Regions from separate parts of the Homo sapiens genome. Here region 2 is linked to region 1. Evidence: promoter capture Hi-C in human tissues and cell types (Jung and others, 2019). All regions are on one chromosome and are shown on one strand. Each heading gives the region's core, a stretch centred on a gene start or on the middle of the fragment in contact. The rest is flanking DNA. Distances are from core to core; before and after follow the strand shown. Region 1 holds the start of EPHA3 (EPH receptor A3). Region 2 overlaps EPHA3 (EPH receptor A3).

The links. Contacts are between HindIII fragments. The study calls those that stand out against the background at their distance.
Region 2: a contact is called between a fragment that was not itself captured here and the fragment with the promoter of EPHA3 in region 1, in 3 of the 25 tissues and cell types used here (dorsolateral prefrontal cortex, hippocampus and mesenchymal stem cells).

What each region holds. Positions count from the first base shown.
Region 1 is chr3:89,105,882-89,110,012 of GRCh38, reverse strand. It overlaps EPHA3 (EPH receptor A3), which reads right to left and starts at 2,392. Exons shown (of 17, transcript NM_005233.6): 1 at 2,177-2,392. The coding sequence starts at 2,264. RefSeq lists an enhancer at 2,411-2,550. The HindIII fragment of the contact is 4,313 bases long and covers 827-4,131 here.
Region 2 is chr3:89,164,744-89,168,846 of GRCh38, reverse strand. All of the region lies in intron 2 of EPHA3 (EPH receptor A3), which reads right to left. Among named protein-coding and RNA genes, the nearest start is that of EPHA3, 59 kb to the right of the region's middle. RefSeq lists an enhancer at 2,582-3,442. The HindIII fragment of the contact is 6,689 bases long and covers 1-4,103 here.

The DNA of each region.
Region 1 (4,131 bases), core at 1,143-3,642:
ATTTTCACTTTTCATGTTATTCAACTCAACTGAGAGCCCAGCTATGGATAATATTTAAAATCTCACTCAAGTATTACCTAAGTTAAATCATCTTAAATTTGTTTTAAAGCTTCCCTTCACAATCACAGGAAGGAAAAGAGACACTACCCATAGGACACAATCTGGAAGGAATAATCCCATGAATGATGGATAAACTTTCATCCAAGCAAATTAAATGCAATTATGTCAGCTTTCTGAATATATTTACCTTTCTATATCCATATGGTTAATGTGTACCTGTCTGTATAATTATATACATTATATCCCCAAACATACATGAGGTGAGGCTTAAAAGCAATTTGTATTTGATTAACTCTGTTTCATTAAATTAATACTGATTAATTTTACATAGGTGTGAAATAGTTTGGTGTCTTTTTTTTTCTCTTGCAGTTTACTTAAAGGTTGTTTTCCACAAAAATACTGACTAACAGCTACATTCTTGTGCATAATTAATTCAGTAATATCCATATCTACATAGTTCATAACCATTCTATCTGGAAAATATAATTTATCATGACAATGTGGGAATTTTAATACTATTTTTCTAGTTATTGTCAATATTTTAATATCTGCAAAGAACAAAAATTTTTAAAACATTAAGTTTAATTTATTGATATGTTACCTATTATACATGTTACCCGTTATACAAATGAATACTCTTACCTTTCATTCAGGAAGAATGATTGACTCTTACTTTCAAATAAACATTTTAATTTGGTTTGTAAAATAAAAAGTCATTTGTGGGTAAGATAATTTTCTTGATCCTTATATTTTAGAATTTTCATTTTCTTATTTAGAAAAAAGATTCAGAACATTTAATGAAAACTGCCAAATTGATAAAGGCAGTCAGTAAGGAAGGAGATAAATTACTGCTCTATTAGCAGTGAAAGTAGGTCACCGAGTATCAGGCAGTTATTACATTTAATAAAAAACTTTCTAAGTATTTTGTTTTTACTCGTGTTTTTAAAATTAAGGTACATATACAACAGTATTGGCTTGACAATATATTTTCTAAGGAGTGATGTATATAACATGATGTTTGCACATCAGTTGCTCGGTATTGTTAACTTGCAAAATAAATTGCTAAATGTTACTGTTATAAGTTCAAAATCACTAAGAGGAAATTAATGTTGTAAGTGTGGCTTTACACTAATCAATTATTTAGAGAAGTTTGTTTTACGAGTTAGTGACTGTATTCACAAGAATAGATCACAAAAGGAATACAGGAGAAAGAAAATGTATGTATTAAGTACACAATCTTATAGAACACATTGGTGTCCTTAACATTAGGTTTGCACTTTAACCCACTGAAAAGGAATTAATGCTCATTACAAGGATAATAAATAACACAACATCAAGGAAATGCCATTTGCTGCATATGAACATTCTCTCTTAATCTACTATTCAGTTATTTACTATATCTTCCCAGGAGCTATCCACTATTCATTAAATACATTCTCCTATTTGTATATAAGCCTTTAAACAAAGAGAATCCAACCTAAGCTTATTGTAATTCTTGCAAATATTACTTACGTTAATGTGGCATATGCTGCTCTTTAGAACCTGTACCATAGAGCAAACCATTGCCTGGCGGGATACACACAACTTCAACACAGCCCTTGCACCATAAACACGCACCTCCGCTTCGACAAACTCTGATTTCCCTTTAGTCCATTCATAAATGCCATGATCCCAAGTAGGAACAACCTGTCATTACCTTTAAACATACTAAAGAGTCTAGAGAGGAAGGCTGAATTTTCTTTCAAACTTCTCGGAGTACCACATGGTCATAATTAGAAAATAAAATACTGCCTTGGCTATTTGGCAATTAACATAACTGGGTTGCAACGCTGGAGGATTTTCTTTCTTTCTTTCTGCTCAAATTGGCAAACAAGGTAATTGCTCGAAATGGTGTCAGATTAAAAACACATTTTCAAAGTTTAGACCATCTAAAATTATCTCCTGAAGTGTTTTAGAAGACAGTTGGAAAAAAAAAAGGCACATCTTTCCTTCACTCTCAGAGCAAACTGCTCTATTCGGAGGCACCTTCCCGACGTGCAAGGCTTCGGTGAGAACGTGCTTTGAAGAGCGTGAGCCCCGCGGGGCAGAGCTCCGTGCGTCGCGGTACCTGGCTTACCTTCATTGGAAGGCTGCGGAATCAGTTCCCCGAAGCTGTCGAGAACAGAGCAGCTGAGAAGGAGGAGGATGGAGAGCTGACAATCCATGTTGCTGGTGCAGAGGGCAGTGAGAGGAGCATATCTCCATGAAGCATGCCACTGATGTGAGGGGGAGCGCTCTGATTGCTGGAGAAGTTACCATGCTCCGCTCGCAGGCTGATGTCAAGTTTGACACTGGAGATAAGGAGGAGTCTGGCTGCCTTTCCGCGAACCCCGCTCGGGGACTTCCCTGGGTCCTAGTGCCGTCTTCAGCGTGCGCTGAAGCAGAGCGGGATGGCACGCAGCTGGCTCTGCAGCCCAGAGCTGCTCGGGAAGGAGACCGGGTGGGAGTGGGGGCGTCGCCCATGGGACAGGAAACACAGAAGATGTGATGAGGCCGCGGTGCTGAGAAAAATGCTCCCTCTTTTGTGTTGCATGAAAAGTAGCTGTTTTATTGTTTGCTATCCATGCTCTGTTGCTTAATTCACCGAAGAAATCACAGCCTTGATAGGAGTATCATATGGCAATGTGAGTGCAAAAGGAACTGAAATGCGAGAGAAACGTGTGTTTTGAAAGAATAGCAGTCTTTCGTTAAAAAGTCAATCATGTTTGTATAATTGAAAAAAATGATTATAGTTATTCCTTTACTGTGTTCAATGTGATCATAACTCTCCATGAGTTCTTTGTGATTCAGAAAGACACTAATACACAGCCTGAATCAGAGGGTCTCTGCATTTCCACACCCAATGGTATCGTGGCTTTTTACTAGATCTGGCACAGTGATTTTCCGCGCACATAGAGCATACTTTGTTTTTTTTCAAACAGGGAAGTTGACCTTCATCATCTTACGGAAGGGAGCAAGTCTAACCCCAGCCGGAGGTCTACATTCTTTTCTCGTTCTGTGTTGTAAAAGTAATACAGATCAAACCTAAATTTCTTAATAATACATATCCCCCTCCCTCACCATCTCACATTAGGATCTCTGGGTTCTGCAAGAGAAACAATGCATAATTCACAGCTCCTCCATTCAACTTTCAACCACTGATAGTCTAATAATATTGGGGTATTCTTATTCTTTAACATTCCAAATCCAAAAGCTAAATAATAATGTCCTCGTACTTTCTCACTTATTTTACACCATGACTATCAATGGTCTCTGTTATTTCCAATCCCATTGCTGAACAACCTATTGCAATCTAGTTCAGCCAAACAATTTTGTAATTTATATTTTAATAACCAGCATCACTTATCTTTAAAATATCTCCCAGAAAATGGTTACTCAGATATCCTTCCGCCCATCTATCTCTTCTTATACTAAAAAGAAAACAAGATTATTATATTCCTCTCACAACTTCAGAAAATAAAGGTATGTTGATAATCTTAAGATCAGTGATCAATTTTAGAGCTCTTGATAATGAAACTTAAATGAAAGTTTGAAAAGCCCTTGCTAATAATGTATTCAGTCCACAAACTCAATGTTTTTAGTTAGAGAACACAATTTTCACTTGAATTTAAGTTAATGGTGCCAGATAATAGTTTGATGACTGGGGTGGGGAATTGGGGTGGATAGAAGCAGCCAGGGGAAAAGAGAGATCCTTCTCACTTTTCTGTGTATGCCATGTTACTTTGTGTCTCTAACTTCTTTCCACATTGTGTCACCAGAGGCTGCGCAATCCTCAAGTGCCAAGTCTGTCAGAATTGAAAATAATAGCAGATACTGCCCAGAGAACTTAGACAGTGGTGACTCTGGTGTTTTTTCAAAGTTCCAGCACAACACTTACATTGTTCCAAAGTTAGATACACGTTTTCTGAAACTTGAAAGAAACTAAAATCTTATTTGGAATTGACAATTTGAAAACATTTTGGAGAATCTGCCAATGTGCTGACACGCAGATCCATTGGCGCCCCTCATGCTATTTCTCTTTTCACACTTGAA
Region 2 (4,103 bases), core at 356-2,855, 60 kb before region 1:
TTTCAATACATTTGCATATTTTAATCATTGAAAATTATTTTCTATACTAACATATGTAAAGGGAAGGTTTTGTTTCCTAGCAATAGGAACTCAACAGGTAGGCAAATATGCATTTTGTAATATTTAGAAAAAATTACTAATTATCATATGAAAAATTTAAAGCTTCTCTATTTCAAGAAGCATTGTGTTTAATTATCTGTATTATTTTTCTTAAATATAGTTTTGATATAATATACTAAACTCTAATTTAGTCATGAAATTAAAATTGAAAGGAAGTCTCTTAATTACCATGAAGTTATTTTTAGAATATCATAGTTTAAACTCTTAACATTAAACATGTAAAAATTTGGTATAAATAAACATCAATGCTGTTTTTAAATTTTTTTTGGTTTGTTTTTAATCACAGCCTCATTAATGATTGAGGACATTAGAGAATGACTTATGAAACACCCTATAAAAAATCACAAAAAATAACATAAACTTTCCACTTTCAGAGATCTAATAACAAAATACCACAGTTGTCAAAGTTATCTGCTTCCTATCAAGATCTATGTTTGGCACAAGAAGTATTCAATTCATTCATCATTGTCAATGCACTAGTACACTAATTATTTCAAATTGTTTCCTCAGCCAGAGGTCTAGGACAAATCAGGCAAGCCAAAAATAGCAGTTATGAATAATTATGCATAATTTACCTCAAGGCCTGGGCCAGTCTGCTATTAAAACTTTTACTTGCCACACTGTGATCTGTGTTAATTGCAAACTTTAAAATTATTTCAAGGTTGTCTTTTTATCCAGTGTCAACTTCAAACCTTTGTCTTAGTGACTTTTAGGTACTTTGCACTCTTCAAATAAAATGCTAATCATAATTTTGTTTAAAAATATATGTACATATATGTATGTATATTTGTGTGTGTGTATATATGTGTATATAATAAATAATAGAAATCAGTGAAGAAAGTGTTGTTCCCACCTTTTGCAATTCTCAAATATGTAGACACAGTATAAACATGAGAGTTTAGGAGTCAAAGTATAGTAATGACCTAGCTGTGGGAATTCTATCTTGCTCCAGTTGAAAAGAGAATAACAGGTTTTAGCAATGTGCAAATATTTCTCCAGTATCAAGTTAGTCCTCAGATACTCCCTATAATTTCTAAAGGAAGGAACCCTTGAAATTCTGCTGCTCCTCAGAAAGTTCAGTGTATTCAACTTTGACTTTCATTTAAGACAAAAACAGAGACAACTACCTTAAATTCACAGATGTCAGGATTTCTAATAAGCACAAACTTCAAACTATGGAGTTAGTATAACACACAATTGAAGATGATGCATTTTAGCTTCTATTTCTTTTTTGTAATGTTATTTCTCCCCACATAGGGGAGAGAAATAGCTTTTCTCCCTACTTCATTTTCTCATTTCTCCCCCTACCCCTACCCATGCTAAATCTTGTAGTTATGCTTTATCTTCTTATTGAAAGAATAGAAAATATTAAAGAGAATATAAATGTGATATTTTAAATTATATGTCCTTTGAATTTCCAAGTATATGTATTTTATATTTGAAAAAATGTAAACAGAGTGAATGTTATGTACTTTTATCACAAAATAAAAACTCTGTGATGTAATGCATCTATTAGCTAGTTAACTGTTTCACAATGTATATATGCTTCAAAACATTATGTTGTACATGATAAAAATATACAATACTATCTGTCCATTAAAACAAATTAGTTTTCATCATTTTTTTTCCAGGTCATTGACTTTTAGACCATGAGGATATGTATCACTAAACTGTCATTTTCCTGAGTTATTTTCTTTGTACGAAACAAAGGATGCTCCATTTCACCTCAGACACATTTTGAGGAGAAATGGGGCAATTTGCAGGAATGTGTTTTCTGCCTGTGACTTGTCAGATAAAGACCCCACTCAACCCCTTCTTAAATAATACATCATACTTGCTGGGTTGCTGTGCTTGTGTTTTTGTGCTGTTTGTTAACTGATGCTTTCAAAGAATTATCCATTCAAAAGCACCCCCTTAATATTGTCAGGTCAATTTAATAAAAGGGTGCATTTTGTTTAGGTTCTCCCTAGACCTCATTCTAAAATATTCTGAGAGTACGACATTTCTGATATGTCACTGTGTTGGAAACTAATTATATGCAAATAATTCCAAGAAGCAAAAGAAAAAAGGAGAGCAAATCAGAGGAAGCAGGTGAATTTGGGAGAGAAAGGGAGAAATGCTAAGGATAGAAGATAATTGATTTGTCTTCATTGTTTCAAAGAACTGTTTTTATGGTTGGTGTTGTTTTTATACGTTTGAATGAAATAGAATCTTGTAACATGGTTATCAGAGTAAAAAATCAGAAAAAAACAATTATTATAATTTAAAGACTTTATATCATTTTCAAAAGTTACAGGCATCCAATAACTACCCTTCCTCTCCATGTGTTTTAGTTATTTCAAGCAAAAATGTGTAGAGTGAGTGCTTCTGTTCAAAAGATAGTATATGTGCTGGGCATATTTTGGTCTTGCCCACAGAAACCTCATAATTTAGTGTACAATTTAAAAAGCTGAACAACTACCATAATAAATAATTACAAATTTTGATAAATTATATGAAGAAGAAGATAAACGAAGAATGAGAAGATGAAGGTGGTTCTTAAACCTACTTTAGACGGTGGAACAGGGAAAACTACCCGGACGTTTAGGCTGAGAACCAGACCTGAAGGGTGCTAAGACAGAGATCTCATGCAGTGAAGAGCCGGGAATCTGGAGTTAGATCACCGGGGTTTTAATCCTGCCACTCATTTGCTATTAATGAGCATTTGAGCAAATTACTTAACCTCTCTGGCTTTAGTTTCATCATCTGTAAAACAAAGATGATGATAGCATCTAAAACAAACCATAGGGTGAACGGCGCTTGAAGAGCCAGGGAAAAGTGTTCTGGGAAAATGAAAACACAGGAACAAAAGCCCTGAATGGGTATTTGGTGTTTCTGAGGAGCTGATTGTTGGCCAGTGTAGCCACAGCATGACCAAGTTCCAGAACGGCAGGGGCCTTTATCATTCAAGGCCTGAACAGCCTTGGAAAGGAGTCAGGATTTTGTTGCACAAAAGCTGATGTCTTCTTTTATTTCAGAAGATGAGTATGTAAAGATGCAAGATATTTGGATCAAGGATTCAAAAGGAGAATACAAAAGTAACACATTTTTTTGAAGGTAATAACATTAAAAATTAAGCAGAGAATTAACATAAGACTTGCATTTTTGAATGGATCATTTTGACTACAATATGGAGATGGAAAGAGGAAAGGCACAGAAGAGCACAGAAGTTTTTAATCCATGCATTAGAACAGTTAAGAGATGGTCTGTTCTATGGTGATAGCATTGGGGATGGAATGATTGAACCAATTTGAAATATATTTGCATTGCATTGCATTTATTAAAAATAATTATTACGAAAAGTATAATTTCTTTCAAGAATGTTTTATATACAGATAATATATGTTGGGTGGATTACATACTATGACATTTCGTTTTAATTCTTAGGAAGATCTGCTTTTGAGGATTAGTTAAGCATTGGCAATTTGTCTTATTTTAAGTGAAAGTTCTTTGTGTTCTCATTCAGCTTTCCCAGAGTTTCAATTGTAGCTACAAAAGAAATGAGGTTGAATTTTCCCATGGATCCCAGTGGGATTGTCTAGAATGTTGTTGCATTAGAATCACTTACAAAATGTCTCCTGTATTAATCTGTTTTATGTTCCTAATCCCTCACTGATTAAAATCAGAGGTGACAGAAAGACTCTAAGAAGGACCTGCAATCTTTAAAAGCCAAATAAGAAACAGTTTCTGAAGTATAAGGATATGAAAACCCTGACTCAGCAATGCTGCATTGAAAGATTTTTGTTTGTTTGTTTGAGTAGTACTACAAGTTGTCTCTGTGTAGTTGTGTAAATACACCTCCATTTTAAATGTAGTATTATCAGATAATTTCATTTATTAAACACTCTCTTCTAGTCCCTGAGATATACTGTGACTATTCTGCAGGGTGTTCTGGGGCATTATCCTACCAGCACACATTCTATTAACACTAATTGTATGCTCTC